Regions from separate parts of the Homo sapiens genome. Here regions 1 and 2 are each linked to region 3. Evidence: promoter capture Hi-C in 16 types of primary human blood cells and fetal thymus (Javierre and others, 2016). All regions are on one chromosome and are shown on one strand. The core of a region is centred on a gene start or on the middle of the fragment in contact, and the rest is flanking DNA. Distances in the headings are between cores, read along the strand shown.

Evidence for each region. Contacts are between HindIII fragments. The CHiCAGO score rates a contact against its expected background, and 5 or more counts as called.
Region 1: the fragment with the promoter of SPRR5 here is called in contact with the fragment with the promoter of SPRR1A in region 3 in 1 of 17 cell types (naive CD8 T cells); the score reaches 5.3 in naive CD8 T cells.
Region 2: a contact is called between a fragment that was not itself captured here and the fragment with the promoter of SPRR1A in region 3, in 1 of 17 cell types (naive CD8 T cells). The highest score is 5.0, in naive CD8 T cells.

Annotation. Positions count from the first base shown.
Region 1 is chr1:152,945,537-152,949,353 of GRCh38, reverse strand. SPRR5 (small proline rich protein 5) reads right to left here and starts at 2,148. Exons shown (of 2, transcript NM_001395435.1): 1 at 2,106-2,148; 2 at 99-817. The coding sequence starts at 799. The coding sequence ends at 473. It overlaps LINC01527 (long intergenic non-protein coding RNA 1527), which reads left to right and starts at 144. Exons shown (of 2, transcript NR_183723.1): 1 at 144-368. The HindIII fragment of the contact is 11,414 bases long and covers 1-3,817 here.
Region 2 is chr1:153,039,498-153,043,290 of GRCh38, reverse strand. It overlaps SPRR2D (small proline rich protein 2D), which reads left to right and starts at 2,171. Exons shown (of 2, transcript NM_006945.5): 1 at 2,171-2,213; 2 at 2,926-3,559. The coding sequence starts at 2,945. The coding sequence ends at 3,163. The HindIII fragment of the contact is 725 bases long and covers 1,705-2,429 here.
Region 3 is chr1:152,981,519-152,985,330 of GRCh38, reverse strand. It overlaps SPRR1A (small proline rich protein 1A), which reads right to left and starts at 1,250. Exons shown (of 2, transcript NM_005987.4): 1 at 1,206-1,250; 2 at 1-119. The coding sequence starts at 100. The HindIII fragment of the contact is 3,855 bases long and covers 267-3,812 here.

The DNA.
Region 1 (3,817 bases), core at 899-3,398, 37 kb after region 3:
GGCAACAGAGCGAGACTCCGTCAAAAAAAAAAAAAAAAAAAAAAAACTGCAGAAATGCTACATTTTCAAACAACAAAATCATCAGACCAAGACATTCATGCCAGAGGAATTCTGTTTTAATTGTTTGAAAACAGGAGCTGAGGGGAAGCGTGGTAGGAGAAGATGCCTGTGCATGCCGCTCATGTTTCCAGCAGGGCAATGTAGATGCATGTCAGGAAAGATGATTAGATAGTTTAGAACCAGATCCTTGTCTGAGATGGAAACTGCAGCTGCTAATTAAGAAGAGTAGAGCTCGAGGAAGCCGCCAGCTGCCAGCCTGGTGCTGCCTCTCCTGCAAGTGTGAAGTGTGGCTGCATCCAGAAGCACTGGTGAGCAGGGCTTTGCTTGGCCTGTGGAGTGTAAGATGCTGGCCCAGAAGGAACTTCATGCTCTGTTTTTCCTGGGGGTTCGCCTCTGATCACATGCCCAGGGCTTACTTCTGCTTGGACGTCTGGCACTGCTGAGGGGGTGGGCACTTGGGGGCACAGGGCTCCTGGCACTTGGGTGGGGGCTGGCAAGGCTGCTTGGTCTGTTGGGGTGGGGGGCAGTACTGCTGAGGTGGAGGGCAGCACTGCTGGGGTGGGGGACAGCACTGCTGGGGAGGGGGGCAGCATTGTTGAGGCGGCGGGCAGCACTGCTGGGGTGGGGGGCAGCACTGTTGAGGCGGGGGGCAGCACTGCTGGGGTGGGGGGCAGCGCTGCTGGGGTGGGGGGCAGCACTGCTGCGGGGGAGCACACTGCTTCTGCTTCTGCTGAGACATTCTGGGCTGGACTTGCAACTGGAAACAGAAAGACACAGAAATGAGGAACACTTGAGCCATAGAGAGACCCTAAGCCCAGGTGAACCCCCTGCCACATTCCTGTCCTGCTCTGCTTTTACCTTGCCCTGATCCCTTCACAGATTTAAGAGGAGTGTGTGTGTGTGTGTGCGCGCGCGCATGTGTAAACTTTAAGTGTTTACAAGTTATTTCAACTCTTTTCAAGACAAAGAAACATGGAAGGAAGGAAAGATAGGAAAGGAGGAAGGGAGGGAAAACAGAAATGTTAGGAGGGGTTGAAAAGAAAGAAAAACATAAAAAAAGAAAAGGGAGAGAGAGGAAAAAAAAGAGGAAGAATGAAAGAGCAGACTGTTGTATCCTATTATAGCAAAACCTGTGGCATCTGGAATAAATTGCCTGGGATCTGAGTTCTGGCTAAATCATTTATTAACTATATGATTTTGAGCAACTAAGGTTTTCCATACTTACCTCTCTTAGAGTTGGTGCAAAAATTAAATGAGTATATAAAATACATACTTAAAATATGCATGCATACGTAGGTATGTATGTACCGACACACACATGCAGAGTAGTAGCACAAAATGAACACTATATAAGAGTTGTAATTTGTTAAGTAAATTCATAAACAATTTAAAAGGCGCATCTTAACCACTCTCTAAAGGAGTTTATAAAGAGAAAACTCTAGAGATAGATGAAATGGACTATCTAGCTTGCCTCTCTCAATTACAGTTGAGGAAAGCAAACCTCAGAGGGAAGGAATGGCTTCAAAGCCACTCGGCATAGATGGTGGGAAAAGAGGTCTCCTGATTCCCAGAGCAGAGCCTTCCATGGTGCCACATCGTCTTGTCCCTGCAGCCCTTTGCTCCATGGACATCCACAACTCTGCTGTCCCAAGGGAGTCTGTTCTCTTTCCTTCCTGCCTTCTCTTTTCTTTGAAAGGACAGTCCTTCCAGTTGCTCTGCCCAGAACTGGTCTCTCCTCTCCTACTAATTCCCTCTTAGCACCTGACAAGATGCAACACCCACACCATGCCAGCAGCATCGCTGAGATACTGACCCTCTTGTAGATACCCCCCTCCTTCTCCCTGCTCAGCCCAGCCTCCCACACTACTCTGCTGGATAACTTGCTGGACCCAAGATAGGTTTGTCACAAATGATATGGAAAAAAGAGGTACCCCAAAAGACCCATCCTTTCTGACCACCACCCAGAGAATCAGCCCAGTCCATAGTTGGTTAGGGATGCAGGCAAGGCAAGGCTGCTATAAGAGGTACTACCTTTCCAGACTTACCAAGGTTCACCAGCGACTGGAGCAGATAGGTGTGGAGGGGTTTGGGATGCTCTGAGCCTATCTACCTTTTATATACCTCTCATCCCTGCCTGAGGCCATGAGGTGGCCCAGGATTGGGGTGTCCTAATTAGTCCCTAGTCACAATAGGATCCACCTGTCCTTCCTCAAATTTTAAGTTTTACTCACCCCCAGGGCTGGTATGGCGGGATTTGGAGATGACAGTGCCTTCACCCTCCCCTTGCCTCATCTCCCCATCATTTTACGAGGACTGGCTTCCTTGGATTTCCAAACCCACTCATGACTTTTGACTTAGATCCCTGGCATCTAGGATGGTCCCAAGCAAGCATTCCGACCATGCTGGGTGTGGGGGTGTGAGGGCAGTGTTCTGGGATGTTCTGGTTGGCAGAGAGGAGGGGATGGGACAGGCAGCTTATGCAGGTAACATAAGAAAACAGCTGAGGGGGCAGATGGCTCTCTTGGAAACCCACCACCCTCAGCAAAGTTGTGACTTTGACTTGACCTAGGCTCAGAGTCACATTCAGCTTGAACTGGTGGGAAGACAAGACAAGAGGCTTTCATTTTTTACCTATTGTTATTTATACAAGAAATGGCAGCTGCCACTCTCTGTCTGTTCTGCTATTGGGAAAATCGTTAGGCCCCATTCGGGGAAACTGGTTGGTTACAGTAGATAGTGCTTATCTCTAAATCTCCCTACATATATCACATATCCATATGACTCCAGGGTTCCCAGGGAAATGATTATCATAAGGTGGAGGGGGTGGGGGAAGCTAAGAAGCATTGCATTAGAGTGAGCTCATGGAGGAGTCACAGTGACTGGATTCTGGGTTCTGAGCTCCTGGGGCCCCAGTCCTGGCTCTTCCTCCTAACTTCTGTTAGAAGTTCCAGGACAAAGAAGGGTGGCACGGGATACAGACTTGGATGCTTCCCATACCTGGCAAAGGATGGAGCTCATCTTTAAAAAATTCCCAAGTGGTGCTCAGACTGAGGCTCTGCCTTTTACCAGTTGGGTGACCTTAGGAACCAGATGTTTTTGCACTTCAATTTTCTCACCTGCTAAAGAGGGTAACAGCACCATTCTGCATGTCAGTTGTAAGGATTAAAATGGACAACTTATTTAAAGTATGTGCAAGTGTTTGGCACAAAATGCATGGTCAACAGTCGTTGGGTGCTCCATGGAGATGGGCTTTGAATACTAGGGCAAGACACACTCTTAGAAATATGGAATAGGAAGTTGAAAAAAGTTGGAGGCAAGTAGTGGCACTTGCCACCCAGTGTCATAAGCTCTTGGTTGAAAGAGACAGGAGGAATAAGTTCAAGGAATCCACTGGAAGTCATGTTGACTATAGTTAATAACAATATGTGACATGAAAATTGCTAAATGAGTAGATTTTAAGTGTTTTCGCCACACAAAAATGATACATATGTGAGGTAATACATGTATTAAATAGCTTGATTTAGTCATCCCACAATATATTCATATATCAAAACATCACATTGTACACTGTACATATATATAATTTTTACTTTTCCCCTAAAAATACATTAAAAAAGACTTTTGAGTGAGAGAAATGGAAATAGGCAAGCTAGTCCTGAAGATGGCACATTTTAAATCTCAGCCATGAAATTTAGCCATGGTTCCACTATTTAATAAAAGCCTTAGAACATCCCAAGACCTTGGGGAGTCATGCTGC
Region 2 (3,793 bases), core at 818-3,317, 57 kb before region 3:
TGAGGGGTGTGTGTGTGTGTGTGTGTGTGTGTGTGTGTGTGTGTGAAGTATGCCTCGCTCTATGTCTCAGGGCCTGGATGTCCTAACTTGGGGAAACTGTGACTATTAGCTGTCCCTCTTCATGTTATGGCCATTCCTCATGTAGCTGGTCTGTGAGGAACTCTGAGTTTCCAGTTCTCCACGTCAACTTGTAAAGTCAGCCTGTCTGAGATGCTGGGGGCACTAGGTCTGCTGCCACTCTGGTGCCTGCACTGCTGTGATAAGCAGCCTGTTTGAGTGGGGTGTCCTAAGAAGGGGAGTCTCAGGTTGTGACCCAAACTGTGTTATCTCACACAGTGATCTCATTTGGCAGCGAATTCTTCAATTTTGCATGGCAGAAATTAGACATTTCTCTATGGATTTATGTTTTAGATGTGATGTGAGGCTCTTGGGGAGTAGTGGGTGATTTATTGAGTAAAGGACTTTTACTTTGGCTGGTGAAGTGCGTGGCATGTGTAATAGTCTATAGGAAGCATTTGGTGAGAACACCATTTGTAATCACCTGGCCTCAGGGTGCTGACATGATGGCTCTATTTCTGTAGTGTCCTGGCCAGTGGTGATCTTGGCTAAAAGCTCTTCCTTACTGACAGGAGCAACAGCTGTTCTGGGAACCTAACCTACTTAACTGAGGGATGTGATGCTGGCTTGATTCAACACTCTGCCCTTCCTGGAGCACAGTTGGTGACTGCTCCAGTGATTTTGAGTCTTTCCTCTTCCTCATTCTCCTTTCTTCTTATTCACTTATAAAACCATGTTCTTGGGAAGCTTCCCGATTAATGGTCCAGATAAGGAAGCAGTAGCAACATCACTTTAAATGTTTAATATACAGTACTTAGAAAGGCTCACTGATTGTAGGAAGCATTTAAAAAAGTTGTGAAAGGACAATCACTAAATGCATTGACAACATATGTGTTAAGTGAACAATATGTACCAAAATGGACAGATGACAGGTATACATTGGGTATGAGTTGATAATCTAGCAGTTTGTGGGACTAGAAGGTTTATGGAAAAGACAAAGGAAGAACATGCAAACAAATTAAAAAACACTGAGAAACATCTAAAACCTGTTTGGAAATAGAGAGGAAGAATACATATTGGATTACCCTTTGTTTGTATTTTCCCCTTGAGTTAAACTTTAAGTGCTCTTACCTTCCTCACTCTGCACACCTACTTCTAATTATTTACATATGATAATGTCTATGCAGCTTGTTCTCTATAGGATGTTCACAGGGAACCATATATGCATGGTTCCATACATAGATTTTGAGTCAATACTTGTAACTTTAGTTTCCTTCTCTCCATTACTTTTTATAAATAAAAAGGCTGTAGTACACATCCTTGATGGCACCAAGTAGCAAACGTGCTGTGGAGACTAGATCTCACTCTCAAATCTGTCCTGGGATGCAAGTGCCTCTACGAATGTGGTGCAGAAGCTACAAATGTGGTGCAGAAGACAGCTTCAAAGAGGAAAGGAATATAGGTAAAAATCTGAGGTTTTATCTGAGAAAAAGGTGGCAAAGAAAATTTCAGTCTTGAACAGGGTCAGCAGATAGCACAATGTGGTCAGCCTGCAAACCCAGAGGTAAGTATTATTGTCCCCTGTTTATAATCCCAGGGAGGAGAGGTGACATGCCTGTTGTCATGGAACTTAGCAAAGAAAAAGCTTAGCTCAGGCCTTTGTTAAGTCTCTCCTTCCTTCTAGCACATTGGCCAACTGTATGAGGAAAGTAGAGGTAGAGTTGGGTTCATGTACAACAATATGGCATTCAGCTAGAGTGGATCAGGACAGGAAGTTTTATGACTCAGGGGAGGTAAGATAGGAAGGGATCATTGTTCCCAATCAAGAAAGAGAGCCCTTGACAACCGGTTAGAGAATCCCTCCAATTATCTCTCTGACGAAAGTCACTGAAACTGAGATCTAAGGCAGGTTCTCTGTGACTCATGAGCACTTAACCCAGTGGGGAGATCCCAGAACAGGATATTTCCTAGTTTGAGAATGCCTCTCATGCCAGATATGGATACATTTGCATTTTACTTTGGACATTGCTGGACCAGCCCAGTTTTAGGCAGTTCCACTTCCCACTGGGTGGGGCAGAACGTCCTATAAAGAGGTTCCCTGCTGCACAACTCTTAAACTCCTGGTACTCTAGCACCGATCTGCTTTGGAGAACCTGGTGAGTGTGAGTCCTTGAGTTCCTCAGTTCTTTGTGACCTGAAATATTGAATTTAATCTGAAAACAGCAAGTTTGGTTGATACAATTCTGTAACCATGGGTTTGATTCTACTTAGTAGATGGAAATTTAGATTTAGAGTACAGTGATATGCTATTTTAGCTTGTTTCTTGTATACAGTTAGGTGTCCATACGGACAGAGAAGTTAATAGGAAAGCTTTGAATTGAAGAAGAAAAAAGAACAAAGTATTTTTTCCCCATGTTTTCCTGGTGTCTTTTTCAAAGGTTTGTGTCTTAACAGGTGCCAAGAGCCTGCAATCCTTCCCAAACAGCCCTTTGTTCTGTGCTCAAGTCAACCCACTGGGACTTTACTACAGATAATGATAAGAGAAATGGCTTGTGAGATTGCTCATGGTATCTGAACTTGTCACTGCCTTTCCTAAAGATGTTATTTTCACAGAAATAACATGCTTGGTTCATTACTACAGAGATATTTTCTTTGGAAAAATTGTATGAGAAAACACAAGATTTCCCAGGGCCAATGAAGCAATTTGCTAAAGTGGAAGGGAGAAACGAAGTAGTCTTGAAAAGGCAGTTAAGAGTTTAAATAATTTCTTGGAGATGGGGAAATAATATTTCATGGTATTACATAAGCATTAGCTTCTCTCTCTGGAGGAGTCCCTTCCCACAAACACTGTTGTATCATTTCTTTCAGATCCTGAGACTCCAGCAGGATGTCTTATCAACAGCAGCAGTGCAAGCAGCCCTGCCAGCCACCTCCTGTGTGCCCCACGCCAAAGTGCCCAGAGCCATGTCCACCCCCGAAGTGCCCTGAGCCCTGCCCATCACCAAAGTGTCCACAGCCCTGCCCACCTCAGCAGTGCCAGCAGAAATATCCTCCTGTGACACCTTCCCCACCCTGCCAGCCAAAGTGTCCACCCAAGAGCAAGTAACAGCTTCAGGATTCATCAGGAGCATGAGAGGATAAGGATAATTGGCTCACCTCGTTCCACAGCTCCACTTGCATCTTCTCACCAAAGCCTTCCATGGATGCACAGGGAGCTTCTTTCTCCTTAACCTGTGGCCTGCCTGTGATGATCTGTGACAGCAAAAGATTCCCTTTCTGAGGCTGCCATACTGCCACTGTCCAGGTGGAGCTAAGAAAAGGAAGTCCTCAGCTGTGCCAGCTCCCAGAGCTTCGGAAGAAAGAGCAGCAGCTCTCTCCCTGGGAACCATCAGACAATTCTGTTGATGTGTTCTGTGTCTGTCTGTCACCTGGTCATGAGCTTCTACCACCTTTGCAATTGTCATTTATCTTTCACTCCCTGAATAAAGTATCTATGCATATATATTTGTGAATGGATCTTTTGTTTCTTTTAGAATCTGCTTTATTAGTAATATTATATGATTATTTGGATTTTGTTCTACCTTTCTCTGATCCCCAGGACCAGGATTTCACAATTATTGTTATCTGAATTTTGGGCCATAACAATGATTATTTTTATATCATTTTAAACCCCTTTTATTTTCCTTAATTAGTGTTTGATTGATTTGAAGAACAAATCAATCAGAATTTTAATCTC
Region 3 (3,812 bases), core at 1-2,500:
TGCATGGTTCCTGGGGTGGAGGCTGGCAAGGTTGTTTCACCTGCTGCTGCTGAGGCTGAGGGGGTGGGGTGCAAGGCTGCTTCTGCTGCTGAGAATTCATGCTTCAAATGTGTTTTTTTCTAGAGACAGAAAGCTGACACAGTGATTCAATTAAAGAAAGATGGATACAAATTCAATGCCAAACAGATTTTATTTCAGGACCCTTTAGAAGAGAAAGCCTTTCATCTCCCTTAACTCCCCCATTACATTTAAAAATGAAATAAGCTTGGATAATTTTCAGGCCCTTTGAAGAGGAGGAGCTAAAAGGCAATTTCTTCTGCTCCATTTTATTGGAGTTCTCTTCTTGGCTCCCTTCCTACCCAAGGCAACTTATATCTGTTCTGGAAAAATGCCCTACTAAAGCTGGCTTCTGAGGGACATGAGGTCCGCATATTAGGTCTTTTGGAAAATGGCATCAGACCACTTTCCTCTCCTAGTACCATGTAGAAAGCCTGTGACTTATAGGATGGCTTTATATTCATCTAAGCCTCTATGGTTTTGCTTCTGGTCTGTGCTTACACAGTCCCTTCCAAATGCTTTTCTTCCCATCTCTGCTTGTCCAAATACCCCTCCATCATAGCTCACATCACTTGACACCCCTAGGAGGGTCTCCTTGAGCAAGGTCTCCCAAAAGTGCACAGCCCTTCTCTGCCCATCTCCGTCATGCCAATTACTATCTACTTTGCATTTCATTTATTTATATATATGTATTACCTTCCTGCTAGGTTTTATGTTTGTTAAGTAAGTACGTTAGGCATTGATTTGTCCAAAGTGCCTAGCATACTGCCTTAAATGGAATAAATGCTCAGTAGAGATCCATCTAATAAATTAAAATTTCTATAAATATCTTGTCAGGGGGAAATTGCAGTGTTACTGAGAGTGCTCTGGGCCTGAGTTCTAGTTCTGCTATGAACTTCCCATGGGCATTTGAACAATCTTCTCCAGGACTCCCAGTTCAATGACTATCTACTGAGGTGGGAGCCCTAACCATCTCTAAGGTCCTTTCAAATCCAGACTGTAATTTAACTTAAAATAAAGATATTCCACTATTCTCTATCTCCCATTGAAACCCTGGATTAACCTGCTTACACATATTTGCCTTTAGCTAATTTCTAATAATGAAAAAGTACACTAGAATTGCCAGTTTGTTGCAATCAGAGACTTACCTGGTATACGGAGCAGAATGGGCTGTGTGGTCCCTTGGGTTTGGTGTGAAGGCAATGGCCAGCTGGCTTTTATAAGATGAATGAGCCCTGCCTCAAGGAAATAGAAGCTCTCGGGCACTCTGTTTTCATTCCTCACCTGTCACACATGACTCACACTACCATCCTCATCACCGGTTGGCTCAGCTTTTTTGATGAACACCACCTGATATTTTTTGGCACTGGCTGGCTGAAAATGATGTCACTGGCCTAATTTTCACTGCCACCCTCATCCTCAGACCCAGGTGCAGGGCTTGCCTTGAGGGAGGGGTGAGCAGCAGGCTTCATGGAGGGTTTCATGAGTTAACCCTGGGGGGACATCTGAGTCCTGTTGAGGCCTTGCCACCTGCTGTCCTTGTCATTGAGATGGTTGTTCCCCGTGTTCTGTGGGACAGGGCACTCTTGCACACATGAATAGGTGGGAAAGGGAGGGGGAGCAGAGGAGCTGAGGTGGGCCCTCCTTGTCTGCCTTGGTGAAGGTGGAAGCTAGAAATAATGAAATGGACTGATTATAGACCCCTTGTCTCAGAGTCCAAGACCCTTCCATCCATTTCCCCCATCTTTTTCCCAATTCCATTAAACTACACACATTCAGAATAATTTACTTATGACTCTCCCACTCTCACCTTCCTCCCCCTGACTGGTTGCTAATCTGGGAAAACCTGCTTTCCTTCACCAACCACACCTTTACCCTTCTCCTACTTCAGGGACTTTCAGGGGCTAATCCTTCTTCTGGGATCACTTTTTCCCTTCACTCCACCCAGACATCTGGCCCTGGCCTTTTCCTCCTTTCTGATCAGGCTAGACTGCCCCCCACCTGAAAACCCAAAAGCCTTTTCTACCTGCCTCCCTGCAGCCCATCCATGGGGTCCTCAATGCTGAATCCTTCTCCACTTTTGCCCACTGCCAGCTCCAGCCCCAATACCTAGAGATCCTGCTGGCTGCAAGGTTTTCCTCCTCCTTCTGGGTCTGTATCTCCTGGGGGCTTTCCGAGGGTCAGAGCTGTTCCTGCTTAAAGCAACGGTGTCCCCACCACAGTGTTTATTTCCTCATTTATTCAACAAATCTCAGTGGGGAGCCTAACATATGCCCATCATGCCTGTCATTCTAGGAGCTCTCTGATGAGGAAGCCCACTTTTCCTCTACAGATCATGAACTCCCCAGGGTAAGAGACAGAGCACAGTTGAGAGCCACTGAGATTATGGATCTCAGAGAGCCTTTAGTTCACACTCCTCAAGGGATGATTGGGGAATCTGAGGCCACCAGAGGTGAAATAACTCACCAAGGTCAAAAAAACAAACCCTAGGAAGAAAAGAATTTTACACAGAAATCCTGTGTTCTCCTTTGTTTTAATTCCTTGTGACTCCCTAATGTCTATGGAGGAAATTAAGCCCAGGCAGAAAATTGATTAGAGGTGGAAAGGGGAGCCCTTCCTGACTGAGAGCTGGGTCACTTGTAGTTCTGGAAAGTTTTAGGAGTGACAGCGTGAGGACACAGAAAGAGCCTTGCCTTGTGGGTAAGCCTTAATCGGTGCTAAGATAAATCCCTTTAAGTAGAAATAAAGATGCTTAATATTTGAGTGGCTCTAAACAGTGGGTGTTTCTAGCTCTGCTAAAGTAAGAAGGGCATGAATTAGAATAGGTGGAAATAAGGTTCAGTTTATCATTACTCAGGGCACCAGGGTCGGAGAAAGGAAGGGAAAAGCCAAAACTAAAATGTCTGCTTCTATCCTGAGTTGCTTTCGCTCTAGGGGAGCTCTCAGAGTGACATCGTGACACAGCTGAGGTGAAGGCACTGGGGGAGGCAGTAGGTGATAAGCCCCTGAGCACCTGCACATGCTTGCCTTCACTCCACGATGGTCAGATTCTGCCCTGCCAAGGAACTTCTCTTTCCTGGGGACACAAGAACAGGGGTTCCCTCAATCTTTCCATAGGCAATTGCCATAAAACTGAGGTCTCTGATTCAGAGCTGCACTCAAAACACAAACTGTTACTAGGTGTGGCCTTTGGAAAATCCAAATCATCCTTAAAACTCAGGTGTTCAGATGGTTCCTCCTCCTCATCTAACCCCTCCTTTACCCAAACACACACCTAAATGTTTGTGGAGCACCTGCTGGCTCCACAGCCAGTGAACCTGAGGCCAAGGTCAGCCTCCCACTGTGTCCATGCAGCCATTGGTCCCTATCCATCTCCATCCTCACACAGTGCCTGGCGTGCAGAAGCTGCTTGGTGACTGGCATTTATAGACCGACTGCCTGGCTGGCTGGCTGGCTGGCTGACTGAATGAATGAATGACTGAATGGCGTTATTTGTAAAGACAGGCTGAGAGTCTACTTTGAAACCTGCCTAGAAGCTCCGGTACACAGTGTACCTGCTGCCCTCCCCACCCACCTGCCTCACTGTCAAACAGTTTAATGCCCCACCTTGCTCCGGGCTGGTGCCAGCCCCACCAGGACACCTGAGCTCCAAGACTCTTGCCTCACTTAGCTCTCCTCTAGGTTTGTGCCCAGGTCCCCTTCTTCACCAAGTCCCCACCCAGGAGCCCTGACAGCAGGGGCTGCTGGAACCTGTT